Linked DNA regions of Homo sapiens: regions 1 and 3 are each linked to region 2. The links are contacts of gene promoters, found by promoter capture Hi-C in human tissues and cell types (Jung and others, 2019). All regions are on one chromosome and are shown on one strand. Each heading gives the region's core, a stretch centred on a gene start or on the middle of the fragment in contact. The rest is flanking DNA. Distances are from core to core; before and after follow the strand shown. Region 1 overlaps TESMIN (testis expressed metallothionein like protein). Region 2 holds the start of GAL (galanin and GMAP prepropeptide). Region 3 has its middle 44 kb from the start of GAL.

The links. Contacts are between HindIII fragments. The study calls those that stand out against the background at their distance.
Region 1: a fragment that was not itself captured here is called in contact with the fragment with the promoter of GAL in region 2 in 1 of the 25 tissues and cell types used here (mesendoderm cells).
Region 3: a fragment that was not itself captured here is called in contact with the fragment with the promoter of GAL in region 2 in 4 of the 25 tissues and cell types used here (H1 embryonic stem cells, liver, mesendoderm cells and 1 more).

What each region holds. Positions count from the first base shown.
Region 1 is chr11:68,724,118-68,726,817 of GRCh38, reverse strand. The region is part of intron 6 of TESMIN (testis expressed metallothionein like protein); the gene reads left to right. Among named protein-coding and RNA genes, the nearest start is that of TESMIN, 26 kb to the left of the region's middle. The HindIII fragment of the contact is 5,580 bases long and covers 1-2,700 here.
Region 2 is chr11:68,683,208-68,685,907 of GRCh38, reverse strand. GAL (galanin and GMAP prepropeptide) reads right to left here and starts at 1,364. Exons shown (of 6, transcript NM_015973.5): 1 at 1,176-1,364; 2 at 904-984; 3 at 260-314. The coding sequence starts at 984. The region is part of intron 2 of LOC107984343 (a long non-coding RNA gene); the gene reads left to right. RefSeq lists enhancers at 618-1,293, 1,970-2,645. The HindIII fragment of the contact is 15,033 bases long and covers 1-2,700 here.
Region 3 is chr11:68,639,334-68,642,033 of GRCh38, reverse strand. No RefSeq gene overlaps it. Among named protein-coding and RNA genes, the nearest start is that of GAL, 44 kb to the left of the region's middle. The HindIII fragment of the contact is 5,691 bases long and covers 1-2,700 here.

The sequences.
Region 1 (2,700 bases), core at 171-2,670, 41 kb before region 2:
GTGTAAGCCACTGCACCCAGCCCAAACCCTAAAATTTCAGGCATAGATTGTACAGTCTGTGATATTGTTTCTTCACGTGGCCTTTTGTCTCTAATTAACTAGATTAATTATTGCCACCAGAATTCTGTGGAGTAGAAGGTGAAATCTGGATGGTCATTTTTTTTGGTAGTCTCTTGTTGCTTACTCACACTTTTGATTTCTTATTTTAAATTTAAAAATATGAAATAATTATCTTCTCTGTAGCTCATAACTATAGTAAAGTCTCTGTCTCATTCTGTGTTTGTTTCATCTCTTGAATTTTTCTCCTTATGGCTTGGAACCTCACATATTTTGTGATTTTTTTAAACTGCGAATTATAATCACTGGGGCTTTCCCTGTGGGAGTTCTTTGAGGCTTGTTTTGAGAATGTGCTCTTCAGAGAAGGTTTGTTTGCTTCCACTTGGAGCTTGGTGGCACTTCCAACTTGGATGACTAACAATTTTTGGCTAATTTTTTTTTTATTAGGCTGCACAGTATGAATTCAGATTTCAACCTGAAGTGAGCCTCCTCCCCTCCCACCAGCCAGGATCACACACACATTTCCTTGCCATTTGTTTTCAGGGCATTTGTTCCCAGAGTAGATAGAGCCCTCCGCAGTTCTGGTCCATGTGTGGATCCTGCAGCAGACCTTCTACCCTGAGTGTGCCTTCGACTGGGGTTAATATACGTAAAGCACCTAGAGCACAGCCCAGCAGATCACACATGTCCTTGTAAGTGTTTGCCACAGTTAGGGTTGCCATAGTTCCCCCTTTCTCCTCCACGCAGCAGTTAAAACCAGCGCCTTTGGTTGCTGGGATCAGCAGATGCTTCAGAGGTCACTTCAGGCTTCAGTTTTAGCTTGGCCCTCTGAATTTTGCCCTCTGTTGGGTTTCCTTAATTTTTTACCAGCTCAAGTAGCCATCTAAAAGGTTTTAAATATTTAATTCAATGTTATTAAGTGTTTTATAGCAAGCAATATGTCAGGATGGCCAATGAATTAAGAATGAGTTTAGAATATATGTCATTGAGCTGGGCATGGTAGCTCACACCTGTAGTCCCAGCACTTTGGGAGGCTGAAGCAGGAGGATTGTTTGAACCGAGGAGTTCGAGACCAGCCTGGACAACATAGTGAGAACCCGTTTCCAACAACAACAACAACAAAAAACTGTCATTTTAGGTCTTTTCAACCACCAAGACTAAAATTTCATGATTCAATATGCCTGTGGGAAGTGAATCTGACAGAGGGTATCATGAGTATTTCCTTGAACAGTATCATCACCCTCTCAGCAAGCCACAGGGCAGGATGACCCAAAAAGTGTTGCAGTGTTGCCAGTGTGCCAGCATTGAGGCAGTCTGCACCTCCAGGACAGCGTCTTTAATGGAATGATGCTCACTGCAACCTAGATCAAGGTGGGATAAATGTGATGTTAGAATTTCTACTAAAAGTTTTACATTTCTGCTTTTGTCATTGAGCTTTAAATCACCTGGAATTGATTTTCGTGATTGGCATTAGGTAGGGATTCAATTTTATTTTTTTCCATACGGACAATTAATTGTCTAGCACCATGTATGGCAAAACACAGATATAGTCCACGATATCTGCAGTGCAGCCCCGTCAGCTCTCAGGGTTTGATTACACATGGGTCTGATTTGGGGTTCTCAATCCCGCTCCAGACATGAATTCTGCTTCTTATTTGTAATGATTTGTCTGTGGATTTCCTTCAACTTTCTATTTAAACAATGATCTTATCACAGATATTGGACCGTGATACCTTCCCCATCTTTGTACTCTTTTCCCTTTTCCTTGCCTTATTATACTGGCTAGAACCTCATAGTGATGAATGGAAGTTCTGGTCTGGGGCACTGTTGAATTCCTCCTAAATTCTAAATATTTCTAAAATTCCCTTGCCTTGCCCTAAATAAGATAGTTGCTGTAGGTTTTTGAGAGATGCCCTTATTAGGTAGAATACATACTCAGATGCTATAACAAAGACTCAAAACTACAACCATTTCAGGACTAATATGGTGGCTAATCAATGTTATTGTCTCAGATTTCTGTCTTAGTTGCCCTGACATCTTCAATGGAGGGCTTGCATTTTGTGGTCTAAGAAGGCTGCACCAGCCCCTACCCTTATGTTCATCTTCCAGACACTGGGGAAGAGAAAACAGGAGGGCAAGTGCACACTCCTTAACCTTTCATGGCAAGACCGGCATTGTCATAATCACTTCCACTGATAGCCCTTTGGCCACAGCCTAGTCATGTGGTCGGGCCAACTAAATAGGAAGCTGGGAAATGCACTCTTGAGGTGAGCCAACCATATGCTCCACTACAATTGCTGCCACTGTAGGATAAGGGGAAGTGGCTGTTGCAGGACTGACTGGCTTCTCTGCTACGTGCCCTTCTCAGGTTAAGGATGCTTCCTTCTATTCCTAGTTTCCTAAGGGATTTGCTATTATTATAATTATCGGAATTATAATAAAGGACTGGTGAATTTTATTGAGTGCCTTTTTATGTATTTGTTGAAATGATCAGATTGTTTTCCTCTTTTAATCTCATAATATATCTATGACAACAAACTTTCCAATGTTAATCTGCCTTTGCATTCCAGGGATTAAGCCCAATTTGATTATTATGTACTGTAAGATTTCGCTCTTTAGGATTTTTGAATCTTTGTTCACAAG
Region 2 (2,700 bases), core at 115-2,614:
AGGCGGGAAAGCCCAGGAGAACTTGAGCAAAGCCCAGGGTGGGAATCTCACCCCGGGACAGGGCGGCAGAGCCGGGGCAGGAGAAGCTTCTGGAAAGAACCGTACACAGATCAAGTGTGCAGAGCAATGGAGACGGGCAATGAGGTCAAGAGGGAGGCCAGAGGGTCTGCCCAGCCGCAGGCGGAGGGGCAGGAGCCAGGGTTCAAAGCGAGGGGCAGGTGGGGTCAGGAGTGGGGAGGCCATGCTGTCAGTCACTTACGTGGGCCCAGCAGGTAGCCCGCGCTGTTCAGGGTCCAGCCTCGTTTTTCCTTGGCCTTGAAGGGAGAAAAGGGGATCAGATGCCAGGGCTGTGCCTGGAGCCTATGCTGAATGGGTGCACCCAGGCTTTCCCGGCATGGCAGAGGACTTAGAACAATGCATGTGCTTTTGGATAGCTCGCGAAATTCCAGGTTTACCCCTAAGTCGGCTATATTTGACATGAAAATGGAACCACTTTATTTACGAAATACTTCACTTGAGGGCCTGAGCCCGCGCACTCTCAGCGCACTGCACCTGCTTTAGTGACGCTGAGGCCACGCCAGTGGCTCCTAGCCCTCCATTCTAACTAAGCCCTGCGGAACGGGCGAGCTTCTCGCTTTCCCGAGGCGCTGACCCGAAGCGCAGAGCTCTCCCGGCGGCCTGGTTATAGCCCGGGGCTGTTGATACACTCGGAGAAGCGCGCGGGGGGAATCCCAGGGAGCCCCGGACCCTTCCCGCGACGCCCGCAGCCAGGACAGCGCCCGCCTTTCCACTTTCCACCCCCATCCCCGCGGGCAGGGCGGAGGCTGCCTCCTCCAGGAAGCCCTCCACGCCCGGCCGGCTCTGATGTCCCCTTCGCTCGGAGGAGACGCGCCCCGCACTTACCGGCGACCAGAGCCCCGCAGAGGCAGAAAGGGCCGCGGCGAGGAGGAGGGAGGCGAGCAGGAGGGCGCTGCCTCGGGCCATCTGGAAGGGAAGGACAGGGCGGGCGGGTCGGAACCCGGAGTGGGCTGCGCCCCGAGGCAAGGAGTGCCGGGGCTGCGGGGAGGAGCAGAGGCGGCGGCCGGGCCAGGGCCCTGGCAGAACCGTCCCTGGGCAGAGGAAAGCCGAAGGGGAGGCCTCCCGGGGGCGCAGGGTCGGCCCGGCGCCAGTAGTACCTTGAGCTGCGGCTGCGCCCGGGTTCGGAGCGTCGGGGTCCGGGTGCGGTGGCGGGTCTGGGCGGCAGGTCCGGGCGTCGGGCCGGGTCGGGTGGGCTCTGGCGGCCTGGGGCGCTCACCGCATGGCGCGGCCGGCAGCAGGGGCAGAAGGCGCGGGCCGGGTCCCTCCACGTGTCCGCCGCCCGGTGTGGCCGCCGCCACCGCCGCCGCTGCTATATATGCGGCGCACCCGGGAGCCGCCCGGAGTCGCGTCACCGGCTCAGCGCCCGCCTCCTGCACCCTCGCCGAGCCCCGAGGGCGACGGGAGTGACCCGAGCTCGGGTCCTCTGGGCCATCATAGGCGGGTGCGGCGGAGAGCCCCCCCTCATCCCGCGGGAGAGACTCCCCCAAATCTGCAGAGAGAACCCCAAACCCTGTGGGAGAGACCCTAATCCCGAAAGACAGAGCCCAATCGCCCCGCGGGAGAGCCCCCAGACCCGTGGCCCAAGTCATCGCTGTGGCGTCAACCCCACTGCTCCCCCCGGGGTCCCAGCCCCAGAGCAAGCCTGACCCCCCACAACGTCCCACGCCTGCGGTCTCCCTGCAGCTTCTCCTCCCAGCCCCTACCGCTGCAAAAGCCAGCTGAGCTCCGCAGCACTGGAGACCCCAGAGGGTGACGGGCAGGGACGACTCCTCAGTCCGAGCCAGCCCCAGCTGGGAGGTCATGGGGTACCCGGGGAATGGCGGGCAACACTTGGCCCTGCGCCCTGGCCGGCTTGTGCTGGGGCTGGAGCGAAGGTTCAGGCCTCGGGAGCCGTCGATGGCGGGGAGGGCAGGCGTTCCCGGCTCCCTGTGCCCAGCGACCTCCCTCCTGTTTCACTAAAGGGGGGCTGTGGATCTCAGGGTCTGCTTGGCCATCCCATTGTGGGAGCTGCGGGACCGTCGAGCATCCACAGGCACCAGCTCAGAAGCTCGGCCTCTCAGTGCCTCCCCTGGCTGCCTGGTCCAGTTGTAAGAGGGAGCTTTAAGCAGGTCCAGCCATTGGGCAACTGGTTAGGTCCAGAGGGAGAGCAGCCCAGACTCCCAGAGGCCGCCAAGGGGTGGGCGGTGGGCAGAGCAGCAGCAAGAGGCTGTCCTTGTGCCCAAGGCAAAGACATCCCACAGGAACAAGGCCCTCCTTGGCTCCTCCACAAACCCTTCCTGAGCTGGGGCCAAGTCCCGAAACAACCCAGGAGAGAACCCAAGCCTAGGCTGTTCCTTCACCCCATTCCCAGGCATCAGGGGAGCACAGGATCCCAGGCATCACACTTGTACAGTGTGGCACCTCCGGGCTTCCGAAGAGCACGGGGTCATCTGCTGAAAACTCGCCTGACCTCCCCTCCCACTGGCCAGACACCACCCAAGTCCTCAACAGCAGCAGCTGGGTTAGGATCTCCCCACCCACTGGGCTCAATATCAGATGGGTTGATGTCACATCTGTGGGTTGATGTCCACAGGGCACAGGACGAATGATGATCATGACAGTGTCATCTTACCTGTCCTCTAC
Region 3 (2,700 bases), core at 132-2,631, 44 kb after region 2:
ATGGCTGGGCTTAGCACTTGGGGGGAGCGCCCCATAAGAGAGTGACCTTGGTCCTGCTGCCTTGCTCAGTCCCTGGCTGTGCTGAGCTGGGAAGGCAAACCCTGGGGGAGCTGGCAGCTGGGGGCTGCCCCTGACCACATGCCTCGCAGCTGCTGGGCAGAGCATCCTCTGTCTAAGGAGGTCTGATTCTACCCTGTGTCTGCCATTATCCGCCCTTGCACTGGCCGGATCCCCTTTTCCACACATGTGGGAAACCACCCTTCCAGGGCCCCTCTCTCTGTGTATTTAGAAGAGGGAAATTAATGGAAAAAATGACAGCCCCATAGCCAACTGCGTTCATCTGGGAACACAGTGGTCCCTCTTGTCCCCGCCTCTACTTTCTGTTCTAAATTGCCCTGGCGCTCAGCTGTCTCCTGTTGGCATCAGGTGCATCTGGTGGCTGGACCCAAGCCCTATGTTCCTGAAGACTGTGAGCCCCTGTGAGTCCCTGCTAACCATGCCCTTTTGGGGTCAGAGTTGCTATTCAGATCCATTTCCGGTCATAATCGGAAGAGGGGGTGCCAAGAAGCACCTGCCCACGTCGGGTGTCTGAGTCCCACATGTATTCCTCTCTGCCGCCTGCTCTCAGGTGACAGCAGCCCCCATGTCCCCCTGCTGCTCAGGGCCAGCCACCCCCACTAAGAGGGTGGCTCCTCTTACGGCTTGCTGGCTGGGCCAAAAGGAGCCTGCAGTACCCTGGTGGAAGCTACAGCTTGTAGTTCTGTCCTCTGGCAAGCAAACACCTCCTTTGGAACCAGAACCGCTAACCTTGCAGAGCCAAGACTGGGGAGATGGAAAACACAAACAGGGGTGACCAGGAGTGATGCTGAGTGGGCCGCCCTGCTCCCACCCCTCAGCTCCCAGACCTATGTGTGCTTTCTGCTGAGAACACAGTGCCATATGAAGGCCTCTGACTCAATGTCCCCATGCCATCCGGGATGACGGGGCCTGTAGTTACAGGGCATTGCTTCAGCTCTCCGTGTGGGAGGCCACTCCAACACCCAGCCAGTCCAGCAGCTTCCGAACAATGAGACGCAATGAGTAGATCCTAGGGACACAGACCCTTTCCCACATCTCCTTCACTGCAAAGTGGCTTCCCTGATCAGAAGTGATGTTGTGAGCCCTTCTACGCCGATGAACAGGACATTCCTTAAGCGCTTGGACAGTGATGCCAACTGAGGCCCTGGAGCCAGGAAAGACAAACTCCTACCTAGAAGAGATGTCTATTTTTGTGCAAACCACTGGCCTTTCCAGAATGAAAGAGGCCCAGTGGGTCCACTTGCTGTCAAGTGGCTGGTTGGTCTCCTGTGAACCTGGGCCACACTGGCAGTGGGATGCTGGTCTCCTGTTGCTGGCAGGTTGGACATTCAGATAAGAGAAGGAGCCAGATGGTTTTGGGAGGTTGCAGTCCACACTGTTGGCCTCATGCCTGCCCTCTGTCTCAGCTGTGGCCGCTCCGTCCATGTGCCTGTCTTTGTTGGGTTGGTGTAGCCACTAAGGCTGGCTCCCATCAGTGGGTTGAGTGATCTTGTCTGCCTGGTGGTTCAGTGCCTCTTCCATGGAAGATGCTTGGGCTGCAACAAAATGCAGCAGGACAACCCCCCAAAATAAAACACCTACAGCCCCAACCCAACAACTGATAGGCGATGTCTGGGAAGACTGTGACCCGTAGTACTCAGCCTATGAGGAAACGGGGGAGAGACCTGTGCACTAGGGGATAAATTGCTTGTTGAAACCGTGCTGGGTGTGCCTACTCATCAGACACCCGAGCTTACAAGACCATCATTAAGAGTCCCACTTCCGCTGTTCTCCGGGTCTCTTGAGTCCATCCTTTGGGTTTGGACAGGCGAGTTTGTTTCTCACACCTAGTCCCAGTCTTTGCTGTCTCATCCTCACAAGCAGCCCACCCCGAATTCTCTCTCTCAGGGTGTACTGTCTATTCGGCATCTAACTTTCAGAATATTCTTTTTCTTTTGCAATAAATTACTCTGTTACCTCTCCTCTGCTGTGTGTCTCTTGTTTAAATTATTTTAAACTAAGAAGATGAGAACCAAGGTCTCACAACAGCAACAATAGGAGACTCAAGATGCAGCAATTGAGACGGAGTCTTGCTCTGTCACCCAGGCTGGAGTGAAATGTCGGCTCACTGCAACCTCCATCTCCCAGGTTCAAGCGATTTTCCCGCCTCAGCCTCCTGAGAATCTGGGATTACAGGCACACACCACCATGCCCAGCTTTTTTTTTTTTTTTTTTTTTTTTTGTATTTTTAGTAGAGATGGGTTTTTTCCATGTTGGCCAGGCTGGTCTTGAACTCCTGGCCTCAGGTGATCCATCCACCTTGGCCTCCCAAAGTGGTGGGATTATAGGCATGAGCCACCATGCCTGGCCTAGCAATTGCCTTTTTATTCTATTTGTTAGAGACAGGGTCTTGCTCTGTTGCCCAGGCTGGAGTGCAGTTGTGTGATCACAGCTCAGTGCAGCCTGGAACCCCAGGGCTCAAGTGATCCAGCTTCAGCCCCGGGAGTAGCTGGGATGACAGGTGTGCATCACCACTTTCATGTGCGTCCATGTGAAGAGACCACCAAACAGGCTTTGTGTGAGCAATAAAGCTTTTAATCACCTGGGTGCAGGCGGGCTGAGTCCAAAAAGAGTCAGTGAAGG